Regions from separate parts of the Homo sapiens genome. Here region 2 is linked to region 1. Evidence: promoter capture Hi-C in 16 types of primary human blood cells and fetal thymus (Javierre and others, 2016). All regions are on one chromosome and are shown on one strand. The core of a region is centred on a gene start or on the middle of the fragment in contact, and the rest is flanking DNA. Distances in the headings are between cores, read along the strand shown. Region 1 holds the start of C2orf76 (chromosome 2 open reading frame 76). Region 2 has its middle 74 kb from the start of MARCO.

Region 1 (6,493 bases), core at 1,874-4,373:
CTCCAAGCGGTGGAAATGGAAATGTACATGTATATTTGCAATGTCCAATTCAGGAGCCACTTGCCACACCAAGTACCTGAAATGACTACTGGGCATCTGAAATGTGGTTCCTGTGAATGAAGACTAAACTTGATTTTATTTAACTATTTTCAGTTAAAATTTTTTTTTTTAGAGACAGAGTCTCGTTCTGTTGCCCAGGCTGGAGTGCAGTGGTGCGACCTCGGCTCACCACAACCTCTACCTCCCAGGTTCAAGCGATTCTCCTGCCTCAGCCTCCCAAGTAGCTGGGACTACAGGCATATGCCACCATGCCCAGCTAATTTTTGTATTTTTAGTAGAGATGGGGTTTCACTACGTTAGCCAGGTTGGTCTCAAACTCCTGACCTCATGATTCGCTTGCTTCGGCCTCCCAAAGTGCTGGGATTACAGGCATGAGCCATAGCGCCCAGCCTCAGTTAAAATTTATATAGTCATATGTGGCTACTGGCTATTATACTAAACTATCGTGTTTGGACTATCATGTTTTATAATCGTGTAATAGGGCTGTATAGTACAGCCCTAGAGAGAGCCGATGACACCTCTTTGATCAGTAAGTGATAGATTCCTATGCCAGTCTATCTAGACTCATGTGAAAATCGGTAACTCTAGTACGGGCACAGGCCAGTCTCTGTGAAAATACTGTTTGTCAGAAAAGCATCTTGGCACCTCTGGCCTCCCCCACTTCACCTTTCCTTCCCCTCCCTGGAAGGACAGAGTTTACGAACTCACTGTAAAACTCACCTTCGCCATAAGACCTTCTTCAACTAAGTGCTCCATGTGAACCCCAGGGTTTGATATGGTACTGCCTGTGATCTGTCATTCTGGGTACTATTTCCTGCTTCCAGCTGGTTGGCAGCCAGCCCACCTGCTCCATCTTCCACCCCAGCTACTGCGGAAATAGGGACCATGCTCGCCTTCTTCCTCAGCAGGGGCAGGGGAGACCTCCCTTCTGTGCTGCCATGATAACCCTGAGTCCTTGCACAGAATGCACTGCGCTGTTGCCTCAGTATCCACCCATGTTTCAGGGACTTAGGGACAGAATGAAACCTGCCCAAGGCAGGAAAGATGTTATTACAGAACATGACAGTCCAAAGCACAGCCTCAAAATCTGCACCAAGATTTCTGGGCAGGGAAAAAGTTATCATCAGGAAGGCACAGACTTGTTAGCGAAATGCTCTGACCTAGCCCAAGAAACCAGGTGCTTCTCTGCTCCTGACATCAGGCTTGGCCAGGCTGTCAAGTGCTCCAAAAAGTGCTCCAACTTTGATCCTGCCCATCTAGGGCAGAAGCTGAACGGCTCAACAATGATACTACTGAGCTGAGAGCCTTCAGCAAGTCTTTTCCAAGCTGCAGCCTTTGCTTCTTCCCTAGTAGAGAGTAGCTGCTGGTGATAACCAGTAAAGACCTTCTAAAACCAGGATTTGAATTCTGTTACTACTGGAGACACTGAGAATCCGGAACATGGTCTTTTCCACCTCAGGAACCATCACCATACCCCACCTGAAGAGTAGGGCCTCAGGCAGTTTGAGAGTGAAGTTCCCAGGGACTTCCAGTCTGAGCTGCTGAGCCTGCTTTGATGAGCAGATGCCCTTCCAACCCCCGCTCTGCATACCTGTATTTATGTCGCCCACAGTTGCTTGTTTGTAGTGGCCATAGATGAACAGCATCTCCTCATCCGATGGCTTGGTCTTAAGGTGCCTAACCTCCTCTGCAGCTTTCTCAAACTCAGCCTAAATGGAAGGGAGAGGAGAGGATTGAGGGCCTCCTCTGGGTGGGAGAGGGTAAGAATCCTACTGTGGCCTGATGACAGCCCAGTTACGGGGATGGAGAGGTGGGAAAGGTGGCACCCTTCGGGCAATGCAGCCCCTGAAGTGTGTCTGCCCCTCCCTGCCCCAACAGGGCAGCTAGAAAGATTCAGCAACACAAGAAGGGGAAGCCCCTCCAGTTCACTCATTCAATCGAAAACCATATATCCAGAGCTCTCACAAACGCAGGCATCAGGTCTGGAAATACAGCAGTGAAGAGGGCAGGCCAAGCCTTCGCCCCCAGTGGGGGTCCCCTCTGCGGGAGAAGCAGCGCGGCCAACTGCCTGGCCACCACCGGGCCAGGCACTAGGGAGTGGCCGGGGCTGCAGCGAAGCCCTGGCCTGAGGACAGACGGGGCACAGTATGCTGGAAACAGCTGAAAGGGGACAGGGCATGAGTGCCGCGGTGTCAGCGCCGGAGCCCGTTGGTCCCCTCCCTCCCCCTGGGGCCCGCGCGTTCAACACCGACCTCTGTCCCAGTGCCCGGATTGGCAGAGGCAGGCGGGAGGAGCCAGAGGTCGCCCCACATAGCTCGGTCTCAGACAAGGGTCTACACTGGAGAGAAGGGAGGGGCCCCTGGGTCACCTCTCCCCGGGCCGCGATTCTCCTCGTCCCGCACTCTGAGCAGCCGGCCCCGTACTTCCCCTGACCTCCAAGCTCTCGGCCACGGACTCCTCGCTTCCCCACTCCGCCGCGACGTCCTGCCCTGTGCTTCGGGATGGGGACTGAGTCTCCTCGCTCCTCCAATCCGTGCAACCCCTTCCCCCATCTCTCCATCAAGCACCCTCGACTCCCACCCCTCTCCCGCTACACAGCGAAGTCCACCCCATGGGCAACTTTCCGGCAGTTGCGGGGTGGGCAGCAGATTTAGAAATCCCCAAACGGAAAATCCCGCTCACAAGGCTCTGTCCAACGAATCAGGGCTAGGCATGGGCCCATGAGCAAGTGAGGGGCACGGAAGGAAAGAGCCCGAGAGCTTCTGGCAGCCGGCTGAGCCCCCAACGGGCCTCCCGCCCGCTGCACCTTCGCAGCCTGGCTGTGCACGCGCTGTACCTGAGACATCCTGGCCGACTTGCAAGAACTCCAGGGAGACAGCGGAGGAGGCGAGGACCAGGAAGCGATCGCCCAGATTGCACTGGCAAGCGCCTTTAGAGGCGCGGTCCACTCGCCCCAACCCTGCTCGGGCGAGCACCGGAAAGCCAATCAGAAGCCAGCTATGCGCTAGGGGCGTGCCCAGCCCCCGCCGCGGCGCTAGCCCCGCCCGAGCCCACGTGGGACCGCTTGCGCAAACGCCGGGAGTAGCCGAAGGGGACGCCGGGAACAGGTGGGGACAACGGAAGTAGGGTGCTTAGTTTTGCTGCCGGGAGTTGGTCGAGAGTTGGGTTCAGTCCTGGCCCGTTGTGGGGACGGCACGCGGGGGAAGGGGAGGGGACGGAGACCGAAGAACGGAGGTCCTTATGTTTCTTTTCTTTCCTTAAATCTTGCCCGGCCTGAAGAGGCCGGAAGTTGCATCTCTGGACAAGTAAACTCTGAGACCTGGGAATGGCGGGCGGGACCCGCTCCTCCCTTGGGGTCTAGAGGAGACCCCCGGAGATGGTCCCTGATGAGCAGCGTGATGGTGGAAAGCTGGACTGGTCTCCCGAAAGGCGAAGCCGAGGCTTCTTCCTCTGAACTTTTGGCACGTTCTTTGACTTGCTTGTGGCCGTAGTGTCAGGCCTGTATTGCACATTTATGTCTGTGGTGCATTTCTCCATCTGGTGCGTTAAAGGCAGGGACGGTGTCTTATTTGTCTTGATTTAACAAACTTGGACGGGACGAAGTGCTCAGCAAATATTTGTTAAATGAATGGCTGTTTATTGAACTCCTGTTGGGTAACTTGCACTGTTCTAGACCTTGGCAGACAGCAGTGAACAAAGCGGGTGAATCCCTGCAATCTTGGAACTTACAAGTAGGGACAGTAGTTTATACAATAAGTTAAATATAGAGTACTTTAGGGGCTTAGAGAGTTGGAAGTTTATAGTTTTAAATGGAGGAGGGGGAGTATTGAGGGAAGGTGACATTTGAGAAAGTTCCTCAAGGAGGGGAGGGAAGATTCCAAGCAGAGAACAAGTGTAAAGGCGTGGGCAAGGAACCAGGGGAAGAGTAGAAAGATGAGGCTGGAGAGTTTTGGCGGTGGCAGACTGGCTAGGTGATGCAGAAGTTGGCCATCACAGGGACTTTGACTGTCATGCTGAGTGAGATGGGAAATCGTAAAAGGGTTTGAAAAGAGGATGAGGAGACGGAGGGGAACGTCTTTGCGAGATTGTTACACAGCCTAATCTCCATGGGAACTGAAAGGAGCAGCACAGGTGTCTGGAAGTGTTTTAGGATCGATGTTTAAGAAGCTAAAGGAAGACTTCTCTGGCAGTGGTTGCAAAGGAGCTGGGTGAAGAGAGGGAAATGATGGAAAATTCTCTGGAGATCATTAAAAAAGCAAAGTCATTCCTCTCTAATTCATAATTTGTGGCAAGAGGGCTGGACTACAAATCTCTGCCCTGCCTACACCTTCCCCCTCCCCAGGGAAGGTAGACGCTTTCAGACTTAACTTGCTAACTTAATGTAGGTCACGTTTTATGGAATGTTTGGGAAGAAATGAAGATGCAATAGGGAACAAATCTAGGGTTTTCAGTCTGAGCATAATTTTGTTTGAGAAAGGAAAACCAAACAAATTAACAAAAATCTTGGAGTTAAATATGGGGAAAGTACACTGAAGTGTAAGAAATGCAGGTTTCTTCGAAAATCACAATTCAGAGCTGCTTTTTCCATTTGAGGCCTGGATTTGTTTTTGCTCTACTTGGTGCTTACAGCTTCCTTGATGGAAACTCAGATTATTGCTTGTGTGGGCCAGATTTGCAGTCAAATACATCTCCTAGTCAGCAGGTTTTAAGTTAGGGTATTGTTGAGATTAGGTACTTTGAGAATGCAGTTATCACTTCTCAAAGATCAGTTGCTTTTAGTTTTTTAGTTTTTGTTTTTTAATTATTTTCGCGTGTGATGTGGTCTCACTCTTTTACCTAGGCTGTAGTTCAGTGGCACAATCTCAGCTCTCTGCAGCCTTGAACTCCAGGCCTCAAGCGATCCTCCCACCTTAGCCTCCCGAGTAGCTGGAAATGTGGGCACAACCACCATGCCTGGCTAATTTTTTTATTTTTATTTTTATTTTTTGTAGAGATGGGGTCTTGCTATGTTGTTGGTCTTGATCTCCTGGGCTCAAGGGATTCTCCCACTTTGGCCTCCTAACGTGGTGGGAGTACAGGTGTGAGCCACTGCGCCTGGCCTTGATTGAATATTGCTTTTCATAATTCTGAGAATGCAAGATCCTCAGCTCTGTTTATGTCCTTGTTAGCCACCGTAACATGTTGTAATTATTTTATTTACAATTATTTTAATTTTAATTTACTTTTCTACTGTCTAACCCTCTGCCTCTGCCTCCCACCAAACACACATAAGCCAGGAGGAGATGGGGTCATTGTGTATCAGTCACTGCTGAATCTCCAAGTGTCTGGCACTTCTTAGGCACTCAACAAATAGTTGTTGAATGAATAAAGTGTTTTTCTCTCTATGAAGATTTATTCTGTCTGATTAACTGAACTTGGAAACCATCTAAATTTGTTAGAACTGAATGTAAAACTATGGGGTTGAGTAAAGTAGATGAACTCTGGTGCAAGGACCATGTAATCTCTTTGTACCACTCCCAGCTTTGGAAGCAGAGCACCTGGAGATGAGAAACCTGACCAGCCAACTTGTCAGCCAAATTGACCCTGCCAATCAATAGAGAGGCCATTGTCATTGTTGTAGTTTGCCTTCACATCTGGGAATACCACTTTTTATTTATTATTTATTTATATTTTTTTCATAGAAACCACTCTTGTCTGCCACAGGCTTCACTCGGTGGGTCTCAGAATAAAGCCAGATGGGCAAGATCTCTCTCTCTTTCTCTCTTCTCTCTCCTCTCTCCTCTCCCTCTCTCTCTGCCCTACCTCTCTCTCCCTCCCCCTTTCTCCTATCTCTGTCTGTCTGTCTGTCTGTCTGTCTCTCTCTCTCTCTCTATTTTTTTGAGACAGGGTCTCACTCCATTACCCAGGCTGGAGTGCAGTGGCACAATCATGGCTCACTGCAGCCTTGACTTCCTGGGCTCAGATGATTCTCCCACCTCAGCCTCCCGAGTAGCTGGGACTACAGGTGTGTGCCACCATGCCTGGCTAATTTTTTGTAGAGATGGGTTTTTGCCATGTTGCCTGGGTTGGTCTTGAACTCCTGAGCTCAAGTGATCCCTCTGCCTCGACCTCCCAGGATGCTGGGATTACAGGCCTAAGCCACTGTGCCTCGCCCTGGCAAGATATATTAATAAGTGAAAGCATTTCTTGCTCATTAGGTGGGAATAGTAGTTTCATATTAAGTTTCTTAGTATAAATGAAACCTCTAATTTCTGAAAGTAACCTAATCACCAGAAAATGAACTACGATTTCAGGAGAGCTTCCTAGTTGCTCTAGTAACTAGAGTTACTATAAGGCGAGGGTTAGGGTATCCACAAATGATGGATTACATTCATTCTGTATTTTCTTTCCGGTTACTTGGAATGTGACTCCTGTGGCAGGGCTTCAGCAGAGC
Region 2 (6,493 bases), core at 1,405-3,904, 350 kb after region 1:
ATTTAATTTTTATTATTTTTTTATTTTTTTTTGAGACGGAGTCTTGCCCTGTCACTCTGTCTGGGGAGTGTAGTAGCGTGATCTCGGCTCACTGCAACCTCTGCCTCCCCGGGTTCAAGCAATTCTCCTGCCTCAGCCTCCCGAGTGGCTGGGATTACAGGAGCATGCCACCACACCCAGCTAATTTTTGTATTTTTAGTAGAGATGGTGTTTCACCATGTTGGCCAGGATGGTCTTAAACTCCTGACCTCAGGCCATCTGCCCGCCTTGGCCTCCCAAAGTGCTGGGATTACAGGCGTGAGCCACCACGCCTAGCCAGGATAAAGTATTTTAAATACCTAACGCAGTACCTACACTTTATAGGAATTTTTACCATGTTTAAAAATAAAGACTGTTCACTTGCCTGTACGGAGTAGAGGATCCAAATCCCCCATCCAGCTCTTAGTTATCTCCACTGTCGCTCTCCAGCTCCCCCGGCCTGACAACACACACCTCATCAATCCTTCTCTCCCCTAACTGCTCCAGTCATATTAATCTTCCTTGTTCTTTCTTATCTCAGAGTCTTTGCTCCTGTCAGGTGCGACTGAATGATCTCCCCTCTCCTCTCTGCCAAACTAGGATGCGCACCTCATTCATGCCTTTGTCAAATTAAAATTTTCTCCATGGTGAAAAAATACCATGAACGAAGCAAAAGGACAAACCAAGGGAATATATTTACATATTCATATCCATGCAACATGAAGGATTCTTACAAATTAGTGAAAAAGAACAATAACTCCATTTTTTAAAAAGAGGGAATGAACGCGTTTAGGCAGTTTACAAATGGGGAAGTACAAATGATCACTAAGCACATGAAAAGAAGCTCAGACTCACTCGTCATTAAAAAACGCACATCAACACAATGAGATGCCATTTTTCAGAATTATATTGGCAAAATAATGATGATGATATACAGTGCAGGCCAGGGCATGGGGAGGAAGGTGCAGTCATGTACTGCTAATGGGAATGTAAATCAGCGCAGCCTCTTTGGATGAGAATCCGGCAATATTTACCAATATTTTTAAAATATTTACCAATATTTAAATGTGTCTCCCCTTTCAGAGGGCAGTGCCACTGGCAGGAGTTATTTTACACTTGTAATACACATGCACCTCTAGTCACTCAACAAATCTGTAGTAAGCTCCTACTACATGCCAGGCACTGGTCGTGACATTGGGAATGCAATGTGCAGGCAGCAAAACCACCTTTGTATTAGTTCCTCGTTGCAGCGGTAACAAATTGCTACAAACAGAGTAACTTAACACAGATGTATTATTTACAGTTCTAGAGGTCAGCGGTCTACTGTGGAGGTGTCAGCAGGGCTGCGTTCCTTCTGGAGGCTCTTGGGAAGAATGTTTCCTTCTGTTTCCAGCTTTAGAGGCTGCCAGCGCTCCTGGGTTCATGGCCCCCTCACTCTTGCTCTGACTTTGACCCTCCTGCATTCCTCTTCCTCGGACCCTGGGATTTGCTATTGGGCCCACCCAGATAACCCCAGATCATCTTCCCTCCTCAAAATCTTTAATTGAATCACATTTCCAAACTCCCCTTTGCCACGTAGGGTAACACATTCACAGGTCTGGGGACTAGGATATGGACATCTTTGGAGATCAATTATTCTGCCTGCCACACTGCCTTATGGAGTCAATATTCTAGGGATAGTGATACACAAAGATATTAATGGAAGCATTATTTGTAGCCTCAAAGAACTTGAGAAGCCTAACTACTCTTTAATAGCCAGCTAGTTAAATTGGTTCCAATACAGCCATTCAGTGGAATACCAGGCTGCTGAGGATGTGAACGTGATATTGAGGTTGTGGTCACAGGGATCCATCTCCCAGATACTTTGCTAAGTGAAAAGTGCCATGCAGAGCAGGATGAGTACTAAGGTGACACTTGTGGAAAGATAAGCACACATGCTTTTATATGTATAGAATATATTTGGAATGATACACAAGAAACTGTTAACAGAGACGAGGAATGAGAACAAGGGGTTTCAGTCAGGGTGAGTCTTACTTTTCACAATATATCCCATTGTGTGGGTTGAAGGCATTTATGGGGCATCTGGAGGGTGGCAGAGCTGTGGCAGTGCTGTGGCAGTGGGCAAGGTGGCTCAGGCAGCAAGGTGACACCCAGGAGGGACAGAGCAGCAGTAGTAATGCTGGAGGGGCACTTGGCTCAAGGCTGCATGTACACATATAGCACCCTGCTCTTGCTCAGATGACCCTAATAGAAATAGCAAAGTCTTTGAAATATGTGTTCATTCAAGCTTTACTTAAGAATGAGAAAACACACACTTTGCTGCTTTTTTTTCTCCTCTTCTCCCCTCTCTTTCTTCCTTGTCTGCTTTGGGGGTGCTCTTTGGGAGGAAGCAGATGAAGTTGGGTGGTAACCACCCCCAGCCACCCCTTGGTGTCATCCCTGCTAGGGAACATGTAGACAGAGAAGAAAGACGAGGGCAGTGTCAACTTTTAGGGGGCAAGCTGTGAGAAAGGAGCCAGGGAGGAAGGCTCAGGGAGAGGCTGGGAGACAAGCAGCTTGAGACTCCAGAAAGGTTGAGAAAATCAAGAGCAGAAGATGTTTCAAAAAATACACAATGCATTTGGTATTTTAAAACCAGTTTTTTAAATGGGGCAAAGCAAGGGTTAACACTGTAAAATATTTCCTGTATCCATCTATCTATTCATATCTATCTATCTATCTATCTATCTATCTATCTATCTATCTATCTAGTCTATCATCTATCTATCTAGTCTATCATCTATCTATCTTATCAGTAAATACTGTAAGGCATACCTGCCAAACACAAGGCATTGTGTTAGAATCTGCAGGCAACATTATAAGCAGCTTACACTTTATTTGGGTGAAAAGTGAAATGAGCTATAAAATATTTAAATAACAGCTTAACCCCGAAGCCACAAAGGAAAAGACTGATAAATTTGACTACACGAAAATTTAAAAGCTTTAGTACAGAGAGGGGAAAAAAAAGCTTCAGGATAAACTGTAAAGGTATTTGAAATGCATATGACAGACAAAAGACTAATTTCCTTAATTTACATTGAGAGAATCATTGAAAAAAAGACCCTAGATGAGCAGATGTGAACAGGAAGTTCTTAAACATGCAAGCTTGGAGGAAAAATTCTCATCTCAACTCATAATTAAAGAAGTGTAATTCAAAACAACAACGAACCTTCACTTCGTTAGTCACATCTCAGATTGGCAAATATTAAAATGAAAATTATTACCAAAGGTGTGGGGAAATAGCCACCCTCTTATTGCTGGTGGGAGTCAATCAGCGCAACCTTATCGGAAGACAATTTAGGAATATGTCAGCATTTCAAGTGCATATACTACTTAATCCAGCAATTCCGCTGCAGCTGCCTCTGCAGAGATTCACCAAGAGGCACTGGGCAGGGTCTCCCGGCAGCACTGTTTGCGATAGCGCTGACTGCAAACAACTAACACCACCCACTGAGGACCAGGCGAGTGAGTTACGCAGCGTCTGTACTGTGGAATATGCCGTAGCCATAAGGAAGGATAAAAATCGGCTCGGCAGAGAACAGTGTGTTCAGTATCATGCCATTTGTGTTAATAAAAACCCTATATACTGTATACGGATTACAGTAAATTATTCTGAGGGGAGAATACATGTGAACTAATAACCACCTCTGGCTTGACACACTGTGCGAATGGTTGCTTCATCAAGTGAGATAAGAAATGTAGGAGCAGATTCCTAAGAAAAAATATGTTAAAAAAAAAAAAAAAAGGCATGCCCCTTTGGTGTAAACCATGAGTCTGACTTTTGACTGTGGAGTTTAAAGTACATCTGGGAGGAGAACTGAGTGGGGGTCGGTGTAGAAAGGAAGGCTAAAGCTGGTAGTGTATTTTATGTTTTCAAGAACTGTTTTGGGAGGGGAACACCACACACTGGGGCATGGCGGGAGGCGGGGTGTGGGGAGGGAGAGCACTGGGAGAAATAGCTAACGCCTGCTGGTCTTAATACCTAAGTGATGGGTTGATAGCTGCAGCAAACCACCATGGCACACGTTTACCTGTGTAACATGTCTGTACATCCTGCACATGTACCCTGGAACTTAAAATAAAATTAAAAATTAATTAAAAAAATGAAAAACAAAACAAAAAAATTTAAAAACTGTTTGAACTTTTTAATCAGCTAAATATGTTGCTATTTTATCAAATATTTTAAATAAAATTACATACTAAGACAACAATTGAGTAACTGGCCCACACAGGACAAATGTCATTGAATTGCTCAGCGAACAGGGGCCAGGACAGGGAGTCTCTCTGATCAATCCCTCTGACCACATTGTTTCTCTATTTTGTGAAGTCGTTTTGTCACTGCGTCTTGTTCACTGACACCCTCAGGAAGATCTCCTACAAAGTGTCTGAGATGTTCCCTACCACCAGCCCCCTTCATCTGGCCCAAGACACTCCCATAGCAGAAGTTTGTTCTGAGTAATTTCCATTTCATTGTGATCTCAAAACATTAAAGATTTGTGCTGCCCAAAGACAGAATCATTCACTGATTTGAGCAACTCTGTGTGTGTGTGTGTGTGTGTGTGTGTGTGTGTGTGTTCCAAGAGTGGCACAGCTTCTTGAGTGAATGAAGCCCTGAATTGGGAGCCAGGAGACCTGAGTTCTAATCCAGATCAGCAGTCAACCAGCTATGTCCTGGGGCCAATCTTATTGCCACCATAGGCCTCCATTGTCTCTAAATGAAGGACTTCAACTAAAGTCATGACCTTATTTATGTATTTATGTATTTATTTGGAGACTAAGTCTCATCTGCTGCCCAGGCTGGAGTGCAGTGGTGTGATCTCAGCTTACTGCAACCTCCTCCTCCTGGGTTCAAGCAATTCTGCTGCCTCAGCCTCCCAAGTAGCTGGGATTACAGGCGTGTGCCACCATGTCCGGCTAATTTTTGTATTTTTAGTAGAGATGGGGTTTCACCATGTTGGCCAGACTGGCCTGGAACCCCTGACCTCAGGTGATCCACCCGCCTTGGCCTCCCAAAGTGCTGGGATTATAGGCGTGAGCCACCGTGCCTGGCTGTCATGCCGTTTAATAATCCTCCCACACTGGCATTCTGATTTTTCTACATTTTGTTCTAGGCCTTCGCTCAAGCCTTGGTTATGTATTCTTCCATTTCTCTACTTTACTATAGCGGCTCCCGTAGAGCGGAGCCTACAGAGGGCTGGAGTGCACGGCACTGTAGGATGGAGAGTTTGGGCCTTGGGAGTCAGATACCCCTGGATTTGAACCTCTTTTCCTCTCCTCACCAGCAGTGTGGGCTAGAACAAGCCAGTTATCCTTTCTGAGAGTGGTTTCTCCCACTATAAATTGCCTTCTAAGTGGTGGCACAGATTAGAGATGCTTCATCTCAGGAACCTGGTAGATAGTAGATGCTCAATTAAAAAATTCATATGATCGCACCAGAAAGTATGATAGGGGAGCACAGCGTGCCCTGCTTCCTCTTCTTCTTCAAGTCTTCTCAAATGCCCTTCCTCTAGGCATTTATGTCACCATCCTGTGACTGTGTGTGTCATGCCCTGCTGAAATTGCCTGATGTCCACTAGACTGTGAAGTCCTGAGGGGCCTCGATCTGGACTTTCATCCCTGGATCCCCAGTACCTGGCACAGTGCCTGGCCCAAAGAAGCTGCTCAATACACTTTTGTTAAGTAAGTGCATCACTGTGGTTTCCTGCTACAGGAAGGCCTGAGAGGCCCGCAGTCTTTACAGGGTAATTTTCCCTCTGGTCTGCCATATGCCTCAGCTCTGTAAGCTAACCCTCTATGGATGGGAGTGAAGAGGGCTCTCTGGGCATACTGATATAAGCAGTGACACCTTGGTCTCCGTGCCTCATGGGGATGTGGCCTTGGACTGTCAGCTTCTCCAAGAGTCAAGTCCACTCATCCAGGAGATAAAGTGCCACCGGGTGCAGAGCTAGGAGCATCTGTAAATGCAGCCCACCTGGGGAGGAGGCTGATTTTTAATTTCAGCCTCTTTTATCAATGACAGCAGGAGCCACAATCAGCATCACAGAGTAGCCTTTATTGTCTCTGAGAACTTTCCACACTTGGGGTGCCATGAGAGGGCCACCTCAGCAGGCCCAGGTAGCCCCAAAGGGTCCCTGCTGCCCATGCCAGTTGGACAGCTCTTCTCAGGTTCCACAGGGAAACCCAAGCCTATCTCTCTCTGACCTGCCTGTCTCCTGCATTCTCTGTTTTGGTGACACTCCTGAGCACCCCAGCTGGGAACCTGGAATCAGCTAGGACCCTGCCCTCCGTTCTGTGCATTGCAGGCCCTCCCATCCCATGCCCCTTGGCCTGTCCCTGCCCCATGCTGTCGTGGCTCCGCTGCTGGGCTGGCCTCCTCACTGGTCATGTTCCCTGAATGTCCAGCCCCACCCTGGCTCATGCAGCTCCCTCCTCCTGC

Evidence for each region. Contacts are between HindIII fragments. The CHiCAGO score rates a contact against its expected background, and 5 or more counts as called.
Region 2: a fragment that was not itself captured here is called in contact with the fragment with the promoter of C2orf76 in region 1 in 1 of 17 cell types (M2 macrophages); the score reaches 5.0 in M2 macrophages.

Annotation. Positions count from the first base shown.
Region 1 is chr2:119,363,464-119,369,956 of GRCh38, reverse strand. It overlaps C2orf76 (chromosome 2 open reading frame 76), which reads left to right and starts at 3,123. Exons shown (of 6, transcript NM_001322331.2): 1 at 3,123-3,167. It overlaps DBI (diazepam binding inhibitor, acyl-CoA binding protein), which reads right to left and starts at 2,980. Exons shown (of 4, transcript NM_001079862.4): 1 at 2,897-2,980; 2 at 1,652-1,769. The coding sequence starts at 2,905. RefSeq lists enhancers at 1,860-2,059, 2,590-2,919, 3,290-3,549 and a silencer at 3,020-3,169. The HindIII fragment of the contact is 12,909 bases long and covers 1-6,493 here.
Region 2 is chr2:119,013,033-119,019,525 of GRCh38, reverse strand. No RefSeq gene overlaps it. Among named protein-coding and RNA genes, the nearest start is that of MARCO, 74 kb to the right of the region's middle. The HindIII fragment of the contact is 693 bases long and covers 2,308-3,000 here.